Linked DNA regions of Homo sapiens: region 2 is linked to region 1. The links are contacts of gene promoters, found by promoter capture Hi-C in human tissues and cell types (Jung and others, 2019). All regions are on one chromosome and are shown on one strand. The core of a region is centred on a gene start or on the middle of the fragment in contact, and the rest is flanking DNA. Distances in the headings are between cores, read along the strand shown.

Region 1 (3,795 bases), core at 870-3,369:
ACTAGGCTGAGGGGGAGACACAGCTCTACCAAGCAGAAAGGTTGGCTCTGGATGGAACATTTTGTGGGGAGTCCCCCATGTCTGTGAAGGCCTCTGCCTTCCCCGAGAGGAGGCGGGGGAAGTGATTGAGGGAAGATTTCAGGTGAGTCCCCCTACTCTCCACACCCTGCCTAACGCCAGCTGTGGAAGGAGGGCATCAGGACCCCAGCCCAGGCCACAGCAGGGAGCCCAGCAGAGGGAAGCCAGGTCAAACCACAGGGACTTCTCTCAGGCCAAAGCCCCAGGAACCCTTGCTGTTGTCCTAGAACATGGTGGGATTGGAGCAGAGACCATCCCACTGGGATCCCCCAGCCCTATCTAGGCAGCCACAGGTGTCCCTCAGGAAGCTCCCCCAACACCCCTGCCACTCTGAGAAGCCAGGACAGATCTCTAAGATTGGGACACTGCCCTCTCCCTGGGCCAACCCCAGCCCTGCAATGAGGCCCCAACCCACTCTGGTTCTCACCTGGCTTCTGCCTCCCAGGGGTGGAGACTGCCTCCCCACTCTCTTCACCCCCAAAGAAGAAGCACAGCCGAGGCCGACATCAGAGAAACTGTGTTGCTGACTTAGTTGCAGCAGGAAATGACTGAAATGGGGTAACTGTCACTCACACACTCACACCTGTGCCCACACACGCACACACAGAGACCACATCCGCAGCAGGTGGGCCTGGCCAGACACCTATGGGACACTTATTGGAGGCCCAAGAATTAAAGTAAGGGGGTGACACCCAGGAGGCCTGGGAGGGGGAAAGCCCAGTGGCCTCATGGTCTCTCTCATCGAACTCCTAAGGGTCCTTCCATGGCCCTGGGCCCCCGAGGGTCAGGGAAAAGAGTGAGGCCGGGACCAGTGTGAGGAGGCCTCTCCCCTGCCTGAGCGTAGAGTCCATTCTCAACAGAGACAAAGCTGCCACGTGCAGGGATGGGTGTGGAGGCCCAGGCGGCAGGGCCCTGGGGCCGGTGTGCAGCGTGGGTGGGGAGTGACGCCCACCAGGACGGCCCCCCATGGGGGTGAGCTGTGTCCAAAGTAGCTGGGCGGCAGCTGGTGTTGATAGTGGCATAAGGGACGTGAAGAGCAGCCTGGGAGGCCTGGCTTGGTGCCTGCGCGGGGGAAGGAGGGTCAAGTGAGTCTGCACAGCTTGGGCCCAGCCCTGGCCCCCCTGCCCCTGCCCCTGTCACCTCATCCCCAAAGCAGGTCCCCTCCTCACCCATGCTCGTGCTCTCGGTGCCTGGGGGCTGGTGCGGGACGGCTGGAGCCTAGGGGCAGGGCTGGGAGAGAGCAAGGATGGTCAGAGCTCTGCAGGGCATGTGGCCATCCCAGTGTCAGGGGGACGTGGACAGGGACCAGGTCTCACCGGTGCTTATGTCGGCGCAGCAGATGAAGGAGGTAGACACAGCCAAAGAGGAGGACTCCTGAGACCCCCAAGATCCCGGCCAGGTCTGCCCGCAGAATGGGGGCAGGAGTCGGCGGGGCAGAGAGCCCTGGGCACGGAGACAAGAATCAGATGGGTGGCCAGTTCCCGAGCCCCTCCCTGCCCTCCTGGACCCCTCGCCCCGGCCCCACCTGGGTCTGAGCTGGGCGGGAGGCTCCCACAGGCCTCCCAGGAGCCCTCAGGGAAGGACGCAAACTTGCAGCAGAAGGTGGTGTTGGCGCAGGGGCTGCTGGCCCCAGAGCCTTCCAGGATGAGAGAGATGCTGCTCTGGGTTTCCCAGCGGGCCTGGCGAGCAGGGGCCCATTGCCGGATGCCACGTTCTGGGTGCAACACAGCCAGCGTGGTCCCCCCAGCACCGTTGGGGCCCCCCCAGCTCACAGTCACCAGGGAGATGGAGCCAGACCCCAGGAACCCACAACGGATGGTGAAGGACGAGAGCTCGGTGGCCTCCATCCGAACTTGAACCCACACCTCCGGGGTCCCTGTGGAACAGCAGCAAGGTCGGTGGGCTGTTGTCCTACATCACCCTCCCTGCAGCCCCTGCCCCTCTCTGGTGCCGGCACTCACCCGCAGTGACACACAAGGTCAGCAGCACCCAGGGCAGGACCAGGGTCCGGTGCCCCATGGCCCCCTCCAGTCCAGGTTCTGGGGGCTGCAGGGCCGGCACCTGTGCCTCTGTTCTCATCGCAGGAAGTCTTCATGTTGTCAGCAGCCAAACAGCCACTTCCTTCTCTCCTCTCACACCTTCCCCAGAGGTGGTGAGCACAAAGTGGCTGATTCCCTTCTTAAAGTGACAGTGAGGGCCTGCTCAGTCCCCAAGGCTGTGCTTCCAGGTAACAAGGCAGGGCGGCACAGGTGGGTGAGAACCCAGCCCTGGCTAGGCCTGGGGAGGCCAGGGGAGGGGCAGAGAAGCTGTCAGGGGCTAGAAGGACTCCCCTTCCCTGGACAGCAAGGGGTGCCGGGCTTCCCTAAGAAAGGGCTCTGTCCCGCCCCTCACCCAGCTAAGGAATCGGAGGAGAAAGCCCCTGGGAGTGGGAAGCCAGCAGGGAGGACCTGAGAGCCAGCCCAGCATGCATGACCCACTACCAATCTGATGTGGGTCCCACGCTTACACCTGCAATGCAGGCCTCCCCCACAACCCCCAGCCTGGCTCGCCCACTACCCACTCATACCTCCTGATCTACCCTGAACGCACCCCATACTGGGCTCTGCCCCAGGCGCTGTCTCCTCGTCATAGGTGATGGCAACTGGCTTCTGGCTGCTCGGGCCCAAAGCACAGCCACCAGTGCCTCTTCCCTTTCACTTCCAACGCACCAAGATTGTGTCAGCAAACAGCAGTCCTCTGCCCTAGCAGTGCAGAAGCCAGGAGTTGAACCCATGTCTCTCACCAGGTTAAGCTGCCTCGCTAAGTTTGGATGTGACCTCAGAAACAGAGGCTACTCCAGCAATACAAGATACTTTATTTTTCGGCTTCTACCTATGCCACCCAATCCCTTCACTGGGCCTAACTTAGTGAATCAAATTAAGTATATTTCCCTCCAAGTTGCCCCAGGATTCTGGGCTCCTTTGCACACTACAGGTTTTCTCTAAACGCCCTGGGTTTATCTATCCTTTGGTGAATTTTCAACTCTTCTTATTTCTCTGCCCTGTCCTGACCAAAAATCTTCAGTGCCTGTTTCTCTCTGCCATCCAAATCCCACACACATCTAGGGGTGAATCGGTGAATCTGCGCTGATGAGTGACACGTTTTGTGAATCCTTTCTAGGATCTCAGTATTTCATCCTATCCCGAGGGAAGGCTCTAAAGAGCTCAAGGAAGACCTCACGATGTCTATGTGTGAGAAGAAACCTTTCACCCCTTCACTATCACACCCCATCATCCAAGCACACACTCCTCTTTCATCCCATAAACCCCAGTCAGTGTCACCTGGAGTTATAAGGATGCGGTGACTTACCTAGTAACGGAAGACTCTCAGTAATCTGAAAAAGAAAAATCCCTTCACTTTATAACTGAGGAGATAACACCAACAAGTCACTTCCAGCAGAGCTCATGGCCACAGTGCAAGTTAAAAAAGGTAAAGCCTTATTGAAAATAATCTTAAAACAATTATTCAATATTAACAGACAATGCCCAGCAGTGCCATGTGGGAGGCAAGCCACCCAGCTGCCAAGGCAAGAGACCGAGGGCACAAGCTGTTCCAGTATAATAAAGAAAATACATAGAATAAGAATAGTTATACTAGAAATAGATTATAGCTATGATTATATATATTACTAATCATTAGTTTATAGCATAACTCTTTATTCCAATATTATAATAATCT
Region 2 (3,795 bases), core at 489-2,988, 100 kb after region 1:
ATATAAAATTAATACAATTGGATAATAATAGTATGTCCCTCATAGGAGTGTGATGAAGATTAAATAAATCAACATATATAAAGGCTGGCACATAGTGAGCACTGTATAAGTATTCACTGTTATCCTGCAGTTATTTATTGAGCTCCTTCTGTATGCATACTAACAATATAGACAGCAATAAGACCTATTATCTCTATCTACAGGTCTCTGTCAGTGTAGTTGGGACAGATAAACCAAGGATGACAAGCTGTGGTGAAGCTGGGCCTGAACTCATGGGCTCAAGTGATCCTCCCACCTTGGCCTTCCAAAGTGCTGGGATTACAGATGTGAGCCACTGTGCCCAGGCCCGTTGGCTGTATTCTGATAGAAGGCCTGCAGAGGTGTTAAAGCAAGGACTGATACAATTAGGTGATTAAGTCTGTTTAAAAAGATTGACAGGTCAGGGGAGAAGAGCGGCACACGGAGGTGAAAGGAGACAGAGATGAGGACCAAGTCATGAGACTGTCATGACTGCCTTTCATGATACTGGAATACAGTTGAGGGGGTGAAGCGAAGAGAAAAGGAATCCAGGGAAGAAACGTAAAGTCAGGAGGGCAGCAAACTAGGGCATCAGGGCCAGCCCCCTTTCTCAACTGGGCCCCACGCTAGTGCAGCTATGGAAGGCGCTGCTTGCTGAAAAATCCATATAGTACGCACCGTCTGCAAAGTCTCACCGGATGGGGACACTCTCCTAGTTGTGTGGCTTCCTTTTGTTTATGAGCTTCAAAGGCTGAATTACTCACCCTCAAACCCCCTCAGCGGGGTGTGGGGCCTGTAATTTGGGAGCGTCTATGCTAGGGTAGGGCAGCGGATGTCCACAAGGCCTGAGCCTCACACCCGGCTCCTGCAGCCTCTGCAGATTAAGGTCTGGTGACATGAGGTAAACACTCACTGAAGATGCTCTAAAAGTTGGCAGTCCCGGGCCGATGGTCCCTGAACTACAATTCCCACAATCCATTGGCGGGCGGGGGGTTCCAAGCCAGCCAAAAAAATGCAGGCTCTCTCTGGATGCAGTTTGAGGTGGCACTACACGTTCGCTTCCTTGACCCCATCCAAATTCAGCCAAGCTCCACCAGAACCTCCCTCAAGCCTTCAAGGAGGTCGGGTGACCCACCCAATACAGGCTAGGATGTCCGGCCTAGAAGAAGGAGGTGTGGCCGGGCGATGCCTATAGGGGCTACCCCCTTCAAATACCTTCGCATTTGCTGGGCAAGCGTTCTGTGTCATCGTCCTCCTCCTTCAACATCCCAGCCCAAGCCTCGTGCACGGCCAAAAAAAGGAAAAGCAATATTCCCAACCGCACAGGTCCCATGACAAAGCGCCGTCTACAAACAATCACCGCTTGCCTTCAACTTCGGGAAGGTAGTGTGGGTCCCTTAAATTCCCAGGCGGCTAGCGGCAACCTTAAATCCAGCCGAGGAAGGTCGGCGCATGCGCAGGATCAGCCCAACAAGGGTGGGGCCTCGTTGCTACGGGTTTCCCTGCCTCCGTTTTGTGGCGCCTCTTGAAGGTCCTGGCAGCCGGGTAGTGAAGGAATAAATTGCAGTAATTACACCAAGAGGGAGTGCTCCTTATATATAGATGTAGAAACAAACTTTTAAAATATAATTTCATTCTGCGAGCCTAGAGGACTTATTCTGGTACGGGGAAGGGGCAGTGACTTGCTCTTAGGCTCTGCCAGGACCTGCTCCCACGAGGGGGCGGGGCCAAGATGGCGCCGAGCGCCGGGTGAGCAGCGTCTCGGCTGCCGCTAGAGTTTTCCTGCTCCCCGCGCTCGGGTGGCGGGGGCGGGTCTGAGTGGTACCCCGGAGGAGACCCTTTGAAGGTCCCTTGTGGGGACTGGAAAGAGGACGGTTGGTTGTGTGTCTGTGCTCGTGGGGACCCCGTGTGTGTGCCTGCATTGGAGAGATGTTGCAGGAGATGGGGTGGGCTCTCTGAACCTCCTTTCGCGCTGCCCGGGGATCTTCGACCTGCTTCTCTGCTGGGATCTCGCTTAAGTTAACCCTTCCCTGGGACGCCTTCCTGCCGCCTCCACTGATCTGAGGAGATCCTGTGACTGTAGCGTGTTTTATGAGCCTTTACTGGCAGAGGGTACCGCCGGGTATTGAAGGATTCGTAGGAGTTCGCCAGGGAAGTGGGACACGACCCCCTCTTGTAAACCCGGCGCCAGGCACAGAGTATGTCTCGAATAGTTGTGTTCCCTATAGATAAGACTTATAAAAGTCGGGGAGGAGATCAGGGATGGTTTGAAAAGAACCAATTTGTTTTTCGGCCTCCCTCTTCCCATCCTTCCAGCACGGCCCCACCCTACCTGTACTACTCCTAAGCAGTATTGATATGTTAATCTTCCTAATGTCCAACTGCAAGTGTGCCACTTTAATTTTTTTTTGTTTTTTTTTTGAGACAGGGTTTCCGTCTGTTACCCAGGCTGTTGTGCAGTGGCACCATCTTGGCTCACTGCAGCCTCCAACTCCTCAGTTCAAGCGATCCTCCTGCCTCAGCCTCCTAAGTAGCTGGGATGACAGGTTCACACCACCAGGTCCGTCTAATTTTTTAATTTTTGCAGAAATGGGGGTCTCACTATGTTGACCAGGCTGTCTCAAACTCCTGGCCTCAAACAATCCCCCCACCTCTGCCTTCCAAAGTGCTGGGATTACTGGGGTGAGTTACCTCTCTTGGCTCCAATTTGCTTTTTTTTTTTTTTTGAGATGGAGTCTCTCTCTATCGCCCAGGCTGGAGTGCAGTGGCACGATCTCGGTTCACTGCAACCTCCGCTTCCTGGTTCAAGCGGTTCTCCCACCTCAGCCTCCCAGATAGCTGGGACTACAGGCGCCCGCCACCATGTCTGGTTAATTTTTGTGTTTTTACAAAAAGACAGGGTTTCACCATGTTGGCCAGGGTGGTCTCGAACTCCTAACCTCAGGTGATCTTCCCGCCTTGGCCTCCCAAATTACAGGCGTGAGCCACTGCACCTGGCTCCACTTTGCTTTTTTTGTTTTTTTTTTTTTTTTGAGACAGAGTCTGGCTCTGTTGCCCAGGCTGGAGTGCAGTGGTGCGATCTCGGCTCACTGCAAGCTCCGCCTCCCGGGCTCACGCCATTCTCCTGCCTCAGCAGCCTCCCGAGTAGCAGGGACTATAGGTGCCTGCCACCATGCCTGGCTAATTTTTTCTATTTTTTAGTAGAGACGAGGTTTCACCTTGTTAGCCAGGATGGTCTCAATCTCCTGACCTAGTGATCCGCCCGCCTCGGCCTCCCAAAGTGCTGGGATTACAGGCGTGAGCCACCACGGCCGGCCCAGTTTGCTTTTAACTACAGTGTAGGCTCAAAGCTTGGGCCTATGACCTATTAATAATAGTGATACCAAGTATTTACTGAGCACCAATATCTCTAAGCCTTACAACTAATTCATTTACTTCACAAATATTTATGATGTCCCAGGCTGGGCTCCTGGAATACATCAGTGAACATAATAAAGAGCTCTGTCGGCCGGGCACAGTGGCTCACGCCTGTAATCCCAGCACTTTGGGAGGCCAGGGTGGGTGGAACACCTGAGGTCAGGAGTTCAAGACCAGCCTGAGCAACATGGTGAAACCCCATCTCTACTAAAAATACAAAAATTAGCCAGGTGTGGTGGCGCATGCCTGTAATCCCAGCTACGCAGGAGGCTGAGACAGGAGAATTGCTTGAATCTGGGAGGCGGAGGTTGCAGTGAGCCAAGATCGCGCCATTGCTCTCCAGCCTGGACAACAAGAGTG

The links. The method cuts DNA at HindIII sites, captures the fragments that hold promoters and counts their contacts. A contact is called where the count stands out against the background at its distance.
Region 2: the fragment with the promoter of TAF6 here is called in contact with the fragment with the promoter of PVRIG in region 1 in 5 of the 25 tissues and cell types used here (IMR-90 fibroblasts, liver, mesenchymal stem cells and 2 more).

What each region holds. Positions count from the first base shown.
Region 1 is chr7:100,218,273-100,222,067 of GRCh38, reverse strand. It overlaps PVRIG (PVR related immunoglobulin domain containing), which reads right to left and starts at 2,119. Exons shown (of 5, transcript NM_001397246.1): 1 at 2,040-2,119; 2 at 1,604-1,954; 3 at 1,395-1,521; 4 at 1,248-1,308; 5 at 578-1,140. The coding sequence starts at 2,097. The coding sequence ends at 817. It also overlaps a transcript of STAG3 not described here and the pseudogene CASTOR3P. RefSeq lists enhancers at 360-459, 480-579, 1,970-2,039, 2,100-2,229 and a silencer at 1,000-1,049. The HindIII fragment of the contact is 32,066 bases long and covers 1-3,795 here.
Region 2 is chr7:100,117,301-100,121,095 of GRCh38, reverse strand. It overlaps TAF6 (TATA-box binding protein associated factor 6), which reads left to right and starts at 1,738. Exons shown (of 15, transcript NM_139315.3): 1 at 1,738-1,892. It overlaps CNPY4 (canopy FGF signaling regulator 4), which reads right to left and starts at 1,462. Exons shown (of 6, transcript NM_152755.2): 1 at 1,234-1,462. The coding sequence starts at 1,351. RefSeq lists enhancers at 766-835, 1,206-1,425, 1,636-1,785. The HindIII fragment of the contact is 13,440 bases long and covers 1-3,795 here.